2 separate regions of the Homo sapiens genome follow, and region 2 is linked to region 1. The links are contacts of gene promoters, found by promoter capture Hi-C in human tissues and cell types (Jung and others, 2019). All regions are on one chromosome and are shown on one strand. Each heading gives the region's core, a stretch centred on a gene start or on the middle of the fragment in contact. The rest is flanking DNA. Distances are from core to core; before and after follow the strand shown. Region 1 holds the start of LYPLA1 (lysophospholipase 1). Region 2 overlaps RGS20 (regulator of G protein signaling 20).

What was found. The method cuts DNA at HindIII sites, captures the fragments that hold promoters and counts their contacts. A contact is called where the count stands out against the background at its distance.
Region 2: a contact is called between a fragment that was not itself captured here and the fragment with the promoter of LYPLA1 in region 1, in 1 of the 25 tissues and cell types used here (hippocampus).

Annotation. Positions count from the first base shown.
Region 1 is chr8:54,099,166-54,106,019 of GRCh38, forward strand. It overlaps LYPLA1 (lysophospholipase 1), which reads right to left and starts at 2,782. Exons shown (of 9, transcript NM_006330.4): 1 at 2,590-2,782; 2 at 1,743-1,774. The coding sequence starts at 2,658. It overlaps LYPLA1-TCEA1 (LYPLA1-TCEA1 readthrough), which reads right to left and starts at 2,782. Exons shown (of 21, transcript NM_001425842.1): 1 at 2,590-2,782; 2 at 1,743-1,774. RefSeq lists a silencer at 2,336-2,905. The HindIII fragment of the contact is 3,514 bases long and covers 1,557-5,070 here.
Region 2 is chr8:53,903,731-53,910,584 of GRCh38, forward strand. The region is part of intron 1 of RGS20 (regulator of G protein signaling 20); the gene reads left to right. Among named protein-coding and RNA genes, the nearest start is that of RGS20, 26 kb to the left of the region's middle. The HindIII fragment of the contact is 5,266 bases long and covers 208-5,473 here.

The DNA.
Region 1 (6,854 bases), core at 1,532-4,031:
GTGCTCATTATTGGCAAAGTTAGAGGATAGCAACCTTCTCCCTGACTTGCAACATCAAGAAAGGTTTGGCCATAAAATAGAGATTCTGCTATTCGAGTTTCATTTGGTAAAATAAGTTCATCATTTTCACAGGACCACTGGATTGCCAGAAAGAGTGCTGCAACCTTTTCTGTAACTCCATACAAAGTTTGTATTACATAACTCGACTTATTAGGCAAAAAATAGGAATCACTTTTAAGTGGTGGCTCACGCCTGTAATCCCAGCACTTTGGGAGGCTCAGGTGGGTGGATCATTTGAGGTCAGGAGTTCGAGACCAGCGTAACCAACATGGCAAAACTCTGTCTCTACTAAAAATACAAAAATTAGCTGGCATGGTGGCAAGCAACTGTAGTCCCAGCTACTCGGGAGACCCAGGAACCCAGAAGGTGGAGGTTGCAGTGAGTCAAGATCACGCCACTGCCCTCCAGCCAGGGCAACACAGCAGACCCTGTCTCCAAACAAACAAACAAAAATCTAGCCTAATGGCATTTTTTTTTTTTTTGAGTCTCACTCTGTGGCCCAGGCTGGAGTGCAGTCGTGCAATCTTGGCTCACTGAAGCCTCTGCCTCCCAGGTTCAAGTGATTCTCTTCTCTCAGCCTCCCTAGCAGCTGGGATTACAGGCATGCACCACCACACCCGGGTAATTTTTATATTTTTAGTAGAGATGGGGTTTCACCATATTGGCCAAGCTGGTGTCGAACTCTTGACATCAAGTGAACTACCCACCTCGGCCTCCCAAAGTGCTGGGATTACAGGTGTGAGCCACCGCGCCCGGCCCCAATGGTTCATTTTAAAGAAAATTTAGTCGTTCTGGGGCTACTTTATCAAAATTTATTTATCTTCAGTTTTCCTCTATTTCTGCAATTTTTCAACAACATTCATATTTTGCTTAAGTTTCACAGATTATCACCAATTTAAATATAAAAACAAAAACATCTCAATATAGAAAAAGCTTGAGTAAAAGATAAATCATGTATCTAAAGTTAGTACAAAAGGCCAGGCTCAGGCAGCTCCCACCTCTAATCTCTGTGCTTTGAGAGGCTGAGGCTGAAGGATCACTTGAGCCCAGGAGTTCAAAGCTGCAGTGAGCTAAGATCCTGCAACTGCACTCCAGCCTGGGCGACAGAGAGAGCCCTTGTCTCTAAAAATAATAACAAAAGAAAAAAGCAAACAAACAAAAAATAAAATAAAAATAAGTAGTTAGTACAACAAATTGTTTGATAAGCCTCCAAATAAATCTTTGAGTTGCCTCCCCTGCCTTTCAACTCATTAGAGTGAACATCTAATCCCTCTATTCAGAATGCTGCATGCCTTATGTTGCCACTAGTTCTCTTATCAAAATCAACTAGTTCTTCTCTTCAATCTGCTCTGAAATTTTAACTGCTCTGGAAAGCTCTCAATTGCACACCGTCCCTACTAACATTCCACGGATCTCTGGTATCCAATACCCAAAGCAACTAATGAGGAATTTGAAATTTTAATATGTTCCAGAAACCAGAGTTAAAAAATCAATAAACTCACGATGATAAGGGGAAAATTCTGAGGGTTTTCAAAACATAAAATCACCGCACTGTAAGATACATTAACTGGCAATCTTAAAATACCATTTTAGCGCCCTTAAACATTAAACCTTTGAACGCGTAAACAAAAGTTGCATGACCCAGTTTCATTACTGTTACTATTAATAATAATGGTACCTACCCAGTATCTCCCAATCCATGCAGGAAAATCACCTATAAGAGAAGAGGAAAATTAATAAGCAATGCCTAAATAAGCCCACACAGGATTGTTACACACTAGCTTTGCTTAAGGTGGAAAACGGAACGAAACCTACGAGAGAATTACACAACACTATCTTCGGCGACTTAATCTTTATCGACCTCTTTTAAATGGCAAAAATTCTGATCAACTTCTCCCTTTATTTCCTGAGATAATGAATGGGGGGGGGGTAGCACTGAGAGGTCCCAGTTAGACATTGAGTGCAAATGATCACATTCTAAGAAAAACAGTTTATCTCTTTCAAGTGAAATCAGGAACATCTCACATATCCTGTAGAATTTTTCCACTGCAAAAGCAAGCTTCCGGAGGCAAAAATAAGTTTGACTTTTCATACACGAGTTTTCTAAAAAACAGTACGTCTGACCTTGTAGGACACTCAATCTTCAAACTTCTTTCATTGAGGATAAGAGTGCGAGGTGACAATAAGGCGATTTCCTGGCGGACTTAGGTTTCCCTCACCCACACACCAGGCAGAAACACGCTGCAGAGGCTGACGCCGTGCCCTAGGCCGGCCCGCGGGGGTCCCGGGGCCACACTTCCTCCGCAATGCAGGGAGGAGCTGGGGACTGGCCCTCGCGCCGGCTGTGACCCCCCGGCTGCCCCCGCCCCCCGCGGACCCGGCCGCGCGGACCATTCGCACCCCACCCGGGCCGGGAGGAGCGTCCTCGTCCGCAGGCCGCCACGCGCCCGCAACGCCCACCCCGCGCGAGGGGCAACCACCGGTGGCCGGCCCAGTGGACCCCTCCGAGCCCACGCCTACGCCACTCACCGCAGCGGTGGCCTTCCGGGCGGCGGGCACGATGGCGGGCAGCGGGGTTGACATGTTATTGCCGCACATACACCGCCTCAGCTCACAGCGCAAGCGGAAGGAAGAGCGGGCGCCCGGCCGCGGCCCAAGGGCGTGCGAGCGGCGAGTCCCGGCCGGCCCCACCGGGCGCACGCTCAGGCGCGTGCGCGCCAACGCGGCCCCGCGCTACCTTCCGCGCGCGCCCGCGCGTCCAGGGTCCGCCCTGCCCTGCCCCTCGCCCGCCGCCCCTCCCTCGGCACCTCACAATGTCCGGGCGGCTCCCTCCCTCCGATTGGCTGCGGCGGCAGCGCGGACCTGGCTGCGCTTTCGCCACACCACGCAGCCTGCGCATGCTCAGTGCTGGCTAGGGAAAATGTGCTCTCAGGTGCAGGCTGAGGGCTGGTCTCTTGGGTCTTGGTTTAGGTTTTTGCTTTTCTGGCGCTGTAGTGAAAAGAATGAGCCCCAGAGCCAATTCACCCAACCCAACCCCAGGTGCTCCTTGGTTTCCTGCGGCCGGGGTCTATCCATTTGTAAAAGTCTGGATGGACTGGGAGACGTTGATGGAGCTTTTGCAGTATTTCCGTTTGGGGCTACAGCAGTATGTAGATTTGGGTTCAACTTACCTTCTTTAAACTTTAGTTGGAAAGGGTAACATTTGTCACCAGAAATCCACTACTTCCCTAACTTGATCGACAACACTTACTGATGTACGGATATTGACACAGTACAGGTTTAAGTGAGAGGTAAAGCCAGCTGGTCTTCTGGGTCGGTTGGGGACTTGGAGAACTTTTCTGTCTTACAAGAGGATTGTAAAATGTACCAACAGCACTCTGTAGCTAGGATTGTAAAATGCACCAATCAGCACTTTGTGGCTAGCTAGAGGTTTGTAAAATGCACCAATCAGTACCCTGTAAAACGGGCTAATCAGTGTTCTGTAAAGTGGACCAATCCGCAGGACTTGGGCCGGGACAAATAAGGAAATAAAAGCTGGCCACGCCCCCCATCCCCTAGCTGGCAGTGGCAGCCCTGGGTCCCCTTCCACACTGTGGAAAGTTTGTTCTTTCACTCTTCACAATAAATCTTGCTGCTGCTGCTCACTCTTTGGGTCTGTGGGACCTTTAAGAGCTGTAACACTCCCAGCACTTTGGGAGGCCGAGGCGGGTGGATCAGGAGGTCAGGTGATCGAGACCATCCTGCCTTAACACGGTGAGACCTCGTCTCTACTAAAAATACAAAAAAAAAAAATTGGCCGGTCGTGTAGTCCAAGCTACTTGGGAGGCTGAGGCAGGGGAATGGCGTGAACCTGAGAGGCAGAGCTTGTAGTGACCTGAGATCGCGTCACTGCACTCCAGCCTGGGAGACAGAGAGAGACCTTGTCTCAAAAAAAAAAAAAAAAAAAAAAAAAAACTGTAACACTCACCACGAAGGTGACAAGCTTTATTCTTGAAGTCAGCGAGACCATGAACCCACCGGAAGGAACCAACTCTGGACACATAAGCATGAGACTAGACTGCCCTTTTCTGCACAGGTGCCTTTATGGCCTAAAATGTAGTTACTCAACAAATGTGTTGCATATCAACTACATGGTAAGATCTGGAAGAGAGCACAAGATAGAAACACTTAAAGCCAAAATGCCCTGACCTTCAGAAGTTTACAATTCAGTGAAGGACATACTGGAGGCCGGGCGCAGTGGCTCAAACCTGTAATCCCAGCACTTTGGGAGGCCGAGGTGGGCGGATCACGAGGTCAGGAGATTGAGACCATCCTGGCTCACACGGTGAAAACCCGTCTCTACTAACAATACAAAAAAAAAAAAAAATTAGCTGGGTGTGGTGGTGGTTGCCTGTAGTCCCAGCTACTCGGGAGGCTAAGGCAGGAGAATGGCATGAACCCAGGAGGCGGAGCTTGCAGTGAGCCAAGATAGTACCACTGCACTCCAGCCTGGGCAACAGAGCAGGACTCCATCTGAAAAAAAAAAGGACATACTGGATACCATCCTTAGAGAGTAAGGTTCGGAAGAAAGCTGTAAAAAAAACAACACTCCATTTCTTTCACACGGTAACCAGTGTCAGAGGCGTGTGAACCAGAGCAACTCCATCTTAAATAGGGGCTGAGTAAAGTAAGGCTGAAACCTATTGGGCTGCATTCCCAGACGGTTAAGGCATTCTAAGTCACAGGATGAGATAGAACGTCAGCGCAAAATATAGCTTATAAAGATCTTGCTGATAAAACAGGATGCAGTAAAGAAGCCGGCCAAAACCCACCAAAACTAAGATGGCAATGAGAGTGAACTCTGGTCATCCTCACTACTGCACTCTCATTGAGAGATAACAACGCGCTAGCAGTCCTCGCTCATTCTCAGCACCTCCTCGGCCTCGGTGTCTGCTCTGGCCACACTTGAGGAGCCCTTCGGCCCGCCGCTGCACTGTGGGAGCCACTCTGTGCTGGCGCAGGCCAGAGCCAGCTCCCTCTGCTTGCAGAAAGGTGTGGAGGGAGAGGTGTCCGTGGGAACCGGGGCCAGAGCAAGTTCCGGGTGGGCGTGGGCTCGGCGGGCTTAGCACCTGGGCCAGCAGCTGCGGAGGGGGCACCAGGTCCCCCGGCACTGTGGGCCCGCCCTCACTGCGCTGGAATTCTCCCCGGGCCTCAGCCGCCTCCCCGCGGGGCAGGGCTCAGGACCTGCAGCCCGCCATACCTGAGCCTCCCCCGCCCCCGCCGTGGGCTCCTGCGTGGCCCAAGCCTCCCTGACCAGCACCTCCCTTTGCTCCGCGGCACCTGGTCCCATCGACCGCCCAAGGGCTGAGGAGTGCAGGCCCACGGCGTGGGACTGGCAAGTAGCTCTGCCTGCGGCCCCAGTGCAGGATCCACTAGGTGAAGCCAGCTGGGCTCCTGAGTCTAGTGGGGACTTGAAGAACTTTTATGTCTAGCTAGAGGATTGTACACACACCAATCAGCACCCTGTGTCTAGCTCAAGGTTTGTAAATGCACCAATCAGCGCTCTGTATCTAGCTAATCTGGTGGGGACTTGAAGAACCTTTATGTCTAGCTAAAGGATTGTAAATACACCAATCAGCACTCTGTGTCTAGCTCAAGGTTTGTAAATGCACCAATCAGCACTCTGTATCTAGCTAATCTGGTGGGGACGTGGAGAATATTTATGTCTAGCTAAGGGATTGTAAATAACACCAATCAGCACTCTGTGTCTAGCTCAAGGTTTGTTAAACACACCAATCAGCACCCTGTGTCTAGCTCAAGGTTTGTAAATGCACCAATCAGCGCTCTGTGTCTAGCTAATCTAGTGGGGACTTGGAGAACTTTTGTGTCTAGCTCAGGGATTGTAAATGCACCAGTCAGCACCCTGTCAAAATGGACCAGTCAGCTCTCTGTAAAATGGACCAATCAGCAGGATGTGGATGGGGCCAGATAAGGGAATAAAAGCAGGCTGCCTGAGCCAGCAGTGGCAACCCACTCGGGTCCCGTTACACACTGTGGAAGCTTTGTTCTTTTGCTCTTTGCAATAAATCTTGCTGCTGCTCACTCTTTGGGTCCGCAGTGCCTTTAAGAGCTATAACACTCACTGCGAAGGTCTGCAGCTTCACTCCTGAAGCCAGTGAGACCAGGAACCCACCAGAAAGAATAAACTCCAGACATACCATCTTTAAGAACTGTAACACTCACCGCGAGGGTCCGCAGCTTCATTCTTGAAGTCGGTGAGACCAAGAACCCACCAATGCTGGACACACCATCAACGCCATGACAGTTTACGAGTGCTGTGGCAATGTCAGGAAGTTACCCTATATGGTCTAAAGAGGGGAGGCATGAATAATCCACCCCTTGTTTAGCATAACATCAAGAAATAACCATAAAAATGGGCAACCAGCTATGGAGTAGCCATTCTTTTATTTCTTTACTTTCTTAATAAACTTGCTTTCACTTTACTGTATGGACTTGCCCTGAATTCTCTCTTGCGTGAGATCCAAGAACCCTCTCTTGGGGTCTGGATTGGGACCCCTTTCCTGTAATATCAGCGTTCTGAAGGATTTGAGGTCTTATTCACACTGTTTTTAATCATTCTTGTGGATTGGATTTGGACAATGAGAATTTTGTGGATTCTCCAAAAGTTTTAAATTGATGACAATTTACTGAAAATGATAATAGTGGGATTCACATTTCATGTACTTGTGTACATTTATCAGGCTTTTAAGTCCTTTAGTTGTGATATCAGTGTTACTGGAAAGGGATCCCAGTCC
Region 2 (6,854 bases), core at 1,591-4,090, 200 kb before region 1:
CCCTCCCTACCAAGTCTCAGCACTAGATGCTGCTTCAGAAGGAGAAGCAGAGCAGAAAGACCATAGAGGGAAGAAGGGTATTTGCGGTCTTCTTACAGCTCCTACCAGAATTTTACCTTTTATCCAAGGTGAGAATGGAGGCAGAGTGAGTGGCTGGGAGACCTCCACCATTATCCAGACCTGAGATGTTAACTAGGGCCATATCACGTGGAGAAGAACAGGGCAGATGTGAGAGGCATGCTGGGAGACAGATTGCCTTTGCCTTTGCCAGGAGTTAGGATTGGGAGGAGTTGAGGATGATGAGTTTTCTTGAACAACTGGAGAGATAGTAACACTGCTTACCAAGAGAGAAAAAACAAGAAGGGGTAGCTTTGTCTGGGGAGATAATAACTTTGCTTTTTTTTTTTTTTTTAACCAAGTCTCACTCTGTCACCCAGGCTGGAGTGTAGTGGTGTGATCTCTGCTCACTGCAACCTCCGCATCCCAGGTTCAAGTGATTCTCCTGCCTCACCCTCCCAAGTAGCTGAAGTAGCTGGGATTACAGGTGCCTGCCACCACACTTGGCTAATTTTTATATTTTTAGTAGAGATGGGATTTCGCCATGTTGGCCAGGCTGGTCTCGAACTCCTGACCTCAAGTGATCCTTCTGCCTTGGCCTCCCAAAGTGCTAGGATTACAGGCGTGAGCCACCACACCTGGCCACAACTTTGATTTTTGACATTAATTTTTCTATGATGTAAGTGATTTGGCTGTTTTTTTCTATAATTTGCAATAACTACGCAGAAATTCTCATTAGGGAGCCTGCTCCTTGCTGGGAAACAGTAAATAGCTGGCCATTCTCATGCAAACCATTAATGATGGCCTCATATATTCCTCAGCCATTTGAAGAGTCCCTAAAGCAGCCCCACAGACAAAGATTTTCCCAAGTGTTTAATACTTTCAGAGGTGCCCTGGGCCAAGTTATCACTGGGAATGCACCCCAGCTGCAATTTTCTTGAGAATGCCACTATTTCCTGGGATAAGCAAAGCTCTTAATAAAGATTTCAATCAGTACTTACAAAATGGTCCTTCGTTGTTGGCTGACATTAGGAAAGAACAAATAAAAACATACATAATTTATTTATTTCCTTCATATCATACTCTCTTCTTTCTAATACTTCCCAAAAGGCCATTGTAAAAGTTGAGTTATATAGGATGTTCATTTAGTAATGGCAGAAGAGAAGAGAAAGACACTCTTATTATAGTCTTAAAGCCTTCACTGGCTTAAAACCTCCTGGGGCTTACACATTTGGCAACGGCTATATAAACAAAAGTGTAAAGATTTCCATGATAAGTCACTGAAAAACAGATGGTAAGATGCTTAAGTGGTTTTTTAAAAGATGAGGACATCTGTAAGCATCCATCTGGAAGTAATTATAATTCAAAAGTCTTTTGTTACTATTAAGCTTCCAGTTGACTTCCCCTACTAGAAAACAATGGACCAGCTTTTTCTTAAAATAGACAATAAAACCCAAATAGTCAGACAATAAAACCAAAAGACAGAAATTTTTGAAAACCCATAGATTTGCCTGGAAGCAAAGTTTAGAATTTCCACAAAAATCCACCAGCTACTAAACTGTTGGCTTTCTGTATCAAACATAGTGGAAATAGAGCTTTGATTTGATTTTTTGGTCTATTTGTGCTGAAGTCAGTGCAAGTAATTCTAGCTCTTCATTAATATTTCATGAGCCACAGTGAGATGGACTTTTGTCTGGTGATGACTATACTGCAGGATAATGGGCCAGCGTCCTCTCAAACTTAGAATCGCCTCATCTCAGCATCCTACTAAACAGAACATCACTGTTGACCAGCATTCAGCTTACGTCTCGGCTGCTAATAGTAACAGGGCCTGTTTGTGACTTCAGCAGCATCTGGTGACCCGGTGTTACTCTTGCAGTACGTGATTCAGAGAAAGCCACATTCCCCTGTTGCTATTTTCAGGTAGGCAGCTAAACCCAGGGAGAGTTTAGCATGGATTCAGCAGGTCTGTTTTTCTAACTTCATTGTGTAAATTCTTGAATGAGAATCTAGCGAGCAGCCAAAAAAAGACTTCCTGTGAACTCATCTTCCTTGAAGCCAAACATCTTCAGAAACTGTTTCCTTCAGGTTCTGGAAGCCTAGAGCCCTTCAAATGAGATTTGTCCCTCTCCCCAACACACTTTATGCCTCCTGTCCCCAGCCAAATGGCTTTTCCATCCTTTTCCTCCTCCCGTTCATTCGACTTCCAGTTCTGTCTGAAGTCAGAGGCATGCATGGGGCTGAGAGGGGCCTGGGTCACAGGGTCCCCCTCCTCCACCCACAAGTGAACATCCAACTTTAAGACCAAGTATTTAAGACCAGAGGATCCTACAAAAAACTCACTCAGGCCAGGCGCGGTGGTTCATGCTTGTAATCCCAGCATTTTGGGAGGCTGAGGCGGGCGGATCACGACCTCGTCCCTACTAAAAATACAAAAAATTAGCCGAGCATGGTGGCACGTGCCTACAGTCCTAGCTATTTGGGAGGCTAAAGCAGGAGAATCACTTGAACCCGGGAGGTGGAGGTTGCAGTGAGCCGAGACAGCACCCCTGCACTCCAGCCTGGGTGACAGAGCAAGACTCCATCTCAAAAAAAGAAAAAAAAACAACTCACTCAACCCTCTGCTACTTTGCTATCGAGTGGCCCCCTAAGTGTGCTGGCAAATGTGGTATCTGTGAAAAATCATCCTCCATCCAAGGCAAAATAGTATTAGAGAAAGATTTCCCAGGCAGGGGAAACCTAGAAGGCAGGACGACCTAGAGGAGGGTAAAATTAGGAGTAAATTGAAACACGTTGTGTTAAATACTCAGAAACATTACTGCAGAGAACAAGGAAATGAGAGTGTCTCTTGAGGCTGCAGTACAGGAGGATATTCCTGGAATATCGCAGTGCTTTTCATGCACCTGGGAACCACAGTCAGTGGGAGCTCAGAAAACAGTGAAATTGAAATGAATGAGGCTCATGAGGAAAGGAGTTTTGTTCTTAATGTGGAACAGCAACAAAGACCCAATCGTTTGAACAGGCTTAAAAAAGTACTGGGAGAGATATGTATAGGGCACAACTGAGGGACTAAGGTAAAATCATAGCATCCCAGTGCAATGCAAGGGGAAGGCTTACAGCTGAGAGTTAGGAGGGAGACTCCCTTGTTTGTGTCCATCTGCTATAGTTGGTATATTGGGGATTACCAAAGCTGTAAAATCCCCAGACATAGCTCTCTGGCTTCACGTTCCACCCCATTTTAATGTCATTAGTCATTTCTTCAATGTGAAAGCAGAAAGAAATGTCCCATCAATTAACTCTGTAGCATATCGTAACAAAAATCTGGGAGAAGCAATGGAGCTAAGTGGCCGGGTGGCTTGGTATCAGAGCTGCCTTCACACTGGTCCCATTCTTCCTTATCTCAGATAACAAAGCATGCAGATTCCTCCTGCTTGTGAACCACATTTTTTTTCTGAAGCATTTGATGTTTTCTATGTCTTGTTAGCCTTCCTGTATCTATTAAGATTTAAAGAATCTTGGCTGGGCGCGGTGGCTCACGCCTGTAATACCAGCACTTTGAGAGGCCGAGGTGGGCAGATCACGAGATCAGGAGTTCAAGACCAGCCTGGCCAACATGGTGAAATCTGTCTCTACTGAAAATATAAACATTAGCTTGGCATGGTGGCACGAGCCTGTAATCCCAGCTACTCAGGAGGCTGAGGCAGGAGAATTGCTTGAACCCAGGAGGCTGAGGTTGCAGTGAGCCAAGATTGCCCCATTGCACTCTAGCTCTGGGTGACAGAGCAAGACTCCATCTCAGGAAAAAAAAAAAGATTTAAAGAATCTTTCCAAAATATTTAAAGAGTAAGAGAGACGCTCTTGGGGATGAGGAGTGGCGGGGCAGGTAATGATTCTCCTGGGAGGCCAGAGGCCAGGCTAACAGGCTCCTGCATCTCATGGCTTCTTAGGATCCCAGAAAATGAATGGCAAGCTTACACTTTGCATTTTAGAGGGGTAGGAAATGAGGGGCCAAAAGATTTAACCAGGATACAGATTAAGTTTAAAGGTCATTACCGGCTACCGTGTCTAAGGGTGAGGTTTGGGATTCCTGCCTTTGTGTCATTGTGCAGCCATCAGAGGTAGGAGGTACGGTCACCCTGACCCTGAAATACTCACAATGCCAGCCCAGAAAAAATCCATCTAGAAGTGCATTCTGCAGGGTAGAGTCTCGGGTTCAATGAAGTTGTGAGGCAGGTGATGAAAGGTCAAAGCTGCCTGACGCATTCATGATGCTTGACAGAGAGCGCTCAATCTGAAGATCATTGACAGTGAAACTATTGAAAACGGCATATGCATATGGAACAAAAAGATGGAAAACGTTGGGAGATGGGATAATGGGTGATTAACTCTTAGAAATGTTCTTTATAGAACATTGAAAGCAAAAAATAAAGGCAGGCACATGCAGACAAGGCAGCTATGGAAAGGAAGTCATGAAAGTTAGAAGCAATAGTTGGAATAAAGCAATAGATAATGGAGATACAGAAAAGTAAAACACTGGACTTGCCGAGCTACTAAAACTTATACAGACTGCTGCTGGGAGCGGTGATTCATGCCTGGAATCCTAGCACTTTGGGAGCCCAAGCTGAGTTGATTACTTGAGCCCAGGAGTTTGAGACCAGCCTGGGCCACATGGTGAAACCCTGCCTCTATTCATAATACAAAAATTAGCCAGGCATAGTGGCAGGTGCCTGTAATCCCAGCTACTCGGGAGGCTGAGGCAGGATAATCTCTTCAACCTGGGAGGCAGAAGTTGCAGTGAGCTGAGATCATGCCATTGCACTCCAGCCTGGGCAACAAGAGTGAAACTCCATCTCAAAAAAAAAAAAATTAGCTGGGTGCAGTGGCTCACACCTGTGGTCCCAGCTACTCAGGAGGCTGAGGTGGGAGGATCACCTGAGGCCCAGGAGGCGGAGGTAGCAGTGAGCTATAATTGCACCACCACACTCCAGCCTGGGTGACAGGGTGAGACCCTGTCTCAAGATAAATAAATAAATAAACAAACTATCATATCAACACAGAAAGTTATAAAGCAGCATTCAAAATCATATATATACTCTTGTAATCATGTAAATAATTTTTGTGAACAAAGGGAAGGAAATGCAAAATAAAATTTAAAATATTGGCATGATGGATTTATGGCATGTTATTCTTTTTAAAAATATACTTGGTAACAGTTGTTGAGCATTTAATAATTCCAGGCACTATGTGAGGATTTTACATGAATTATCATATTTATTCCTCCCAGCAACCCCATGAGCCAGATACTATTATTTTCCTGATTTGACACAGAGAAGTTGGGGTGACCTGCCTGTGGTCATACAGGTAGTGGTGGTACTGGGTCCATTTGATTCTGAGTACTCTATTATCCATTATGGTATGTGTGTATATATATATATATATATATATATATATATATATATATATATATACTTTTTTTTTTTGAGACAGGGTCTTACTCTGTCACCCAGGCTGGAGAGCAGTGGTGTTATCTCAATTCACTGTGGCCTCTGCCTTCCAGGCTCCAGCAATCCTCCAGCCTCAGCCTCCCAAATAGCTGGGACTATAGGCCCGCACCACCATATATGGCTAATTTGTTGTTGTTGTTGTTGAGACAGGGTTTCCCTATATTACCCAGGCTGGTCTCAAACTCCTAGGCTGAAGTGATCCGCCCATGGCCTTGGTCTCCCAAAGTGCTGGGATTACAGCTGTGGGCCACCACACCCAGCCCCTTATGCTATTTTTTTTAAAGGCTGTTATTATAATAGTGTACAGGTAGATATTTAAATGCATGCTTATATTAAAAATTTGGAGATATATTAATGTTCCTATGGCAGAATGATATCATAGTCCTGGTACTTGATATTGGAGGTTTCTTGCTTCTGGTAGAGAAGTAACATTATAGAAAGTAGCAATACAGTGGGAAGGAATTGTTGTGTGAATAATGATGAACCATTTCTGAGAATGGATTAAATGTGTATGATACACTTGTCTTTGACAACTTTTGACTGATGTGGAAGGACAGAGGTGATGGAAACTCTAATGAGGAAGGAAAATGTCTGCTGGGTGTGTATTCTCTCTCTTTCCTTCTAGAGTCCTTTGTATCTAGAGTGTCTGAGACTGGGGAAATGAAGGTGACCAGTAGATAGTTGAAGAGAGCAGGGACAAATGCCTTCCTGGGCTGGGTTCATACATTTTATTAAATTCCCTGTTACATTATCAAACAGAAAGGGTAAAGATGCATTGAGTCATGAGGTAAAACACAGAGGGATACATTATTAGTTCTTTAATCATTCATCACATATGTATTAAACACCTTTACATAAAACAGAATCAATCAAAGCACTATTAGGAACATGAAGAAAGCCATGTAGCCAGCAAAAGTATAGATGCCCTGGTACCAGCAAGAGCACAAAGCTGGTATTTGAGGGGCTCTTGCTTCAGGCTATGGGCCAAAAAAAATTACCAAGACCCTCCACCAAGGAAGAGGTACCCATAGCAGATAATACATGAAAAGATGTTCAACATTATCAGTCAAGAGGGAAATGCAAATTAAACCCACCATGAGCTGCCACTTACGCCTATTAAAATCGCCAGGAAAAAAAAAATCTGACAATGTCAGCTACTGACAAGGATGTGGAACAATTGAAACTCTCATTCATTGCTGGTGGGAACAGAAAAAAGATACAGCTCCTTTGAAAGACAAGTTGGCATGTTCTTAGAAAGCGAATAAACATGCACTTACTATGTGACCCAGTGAG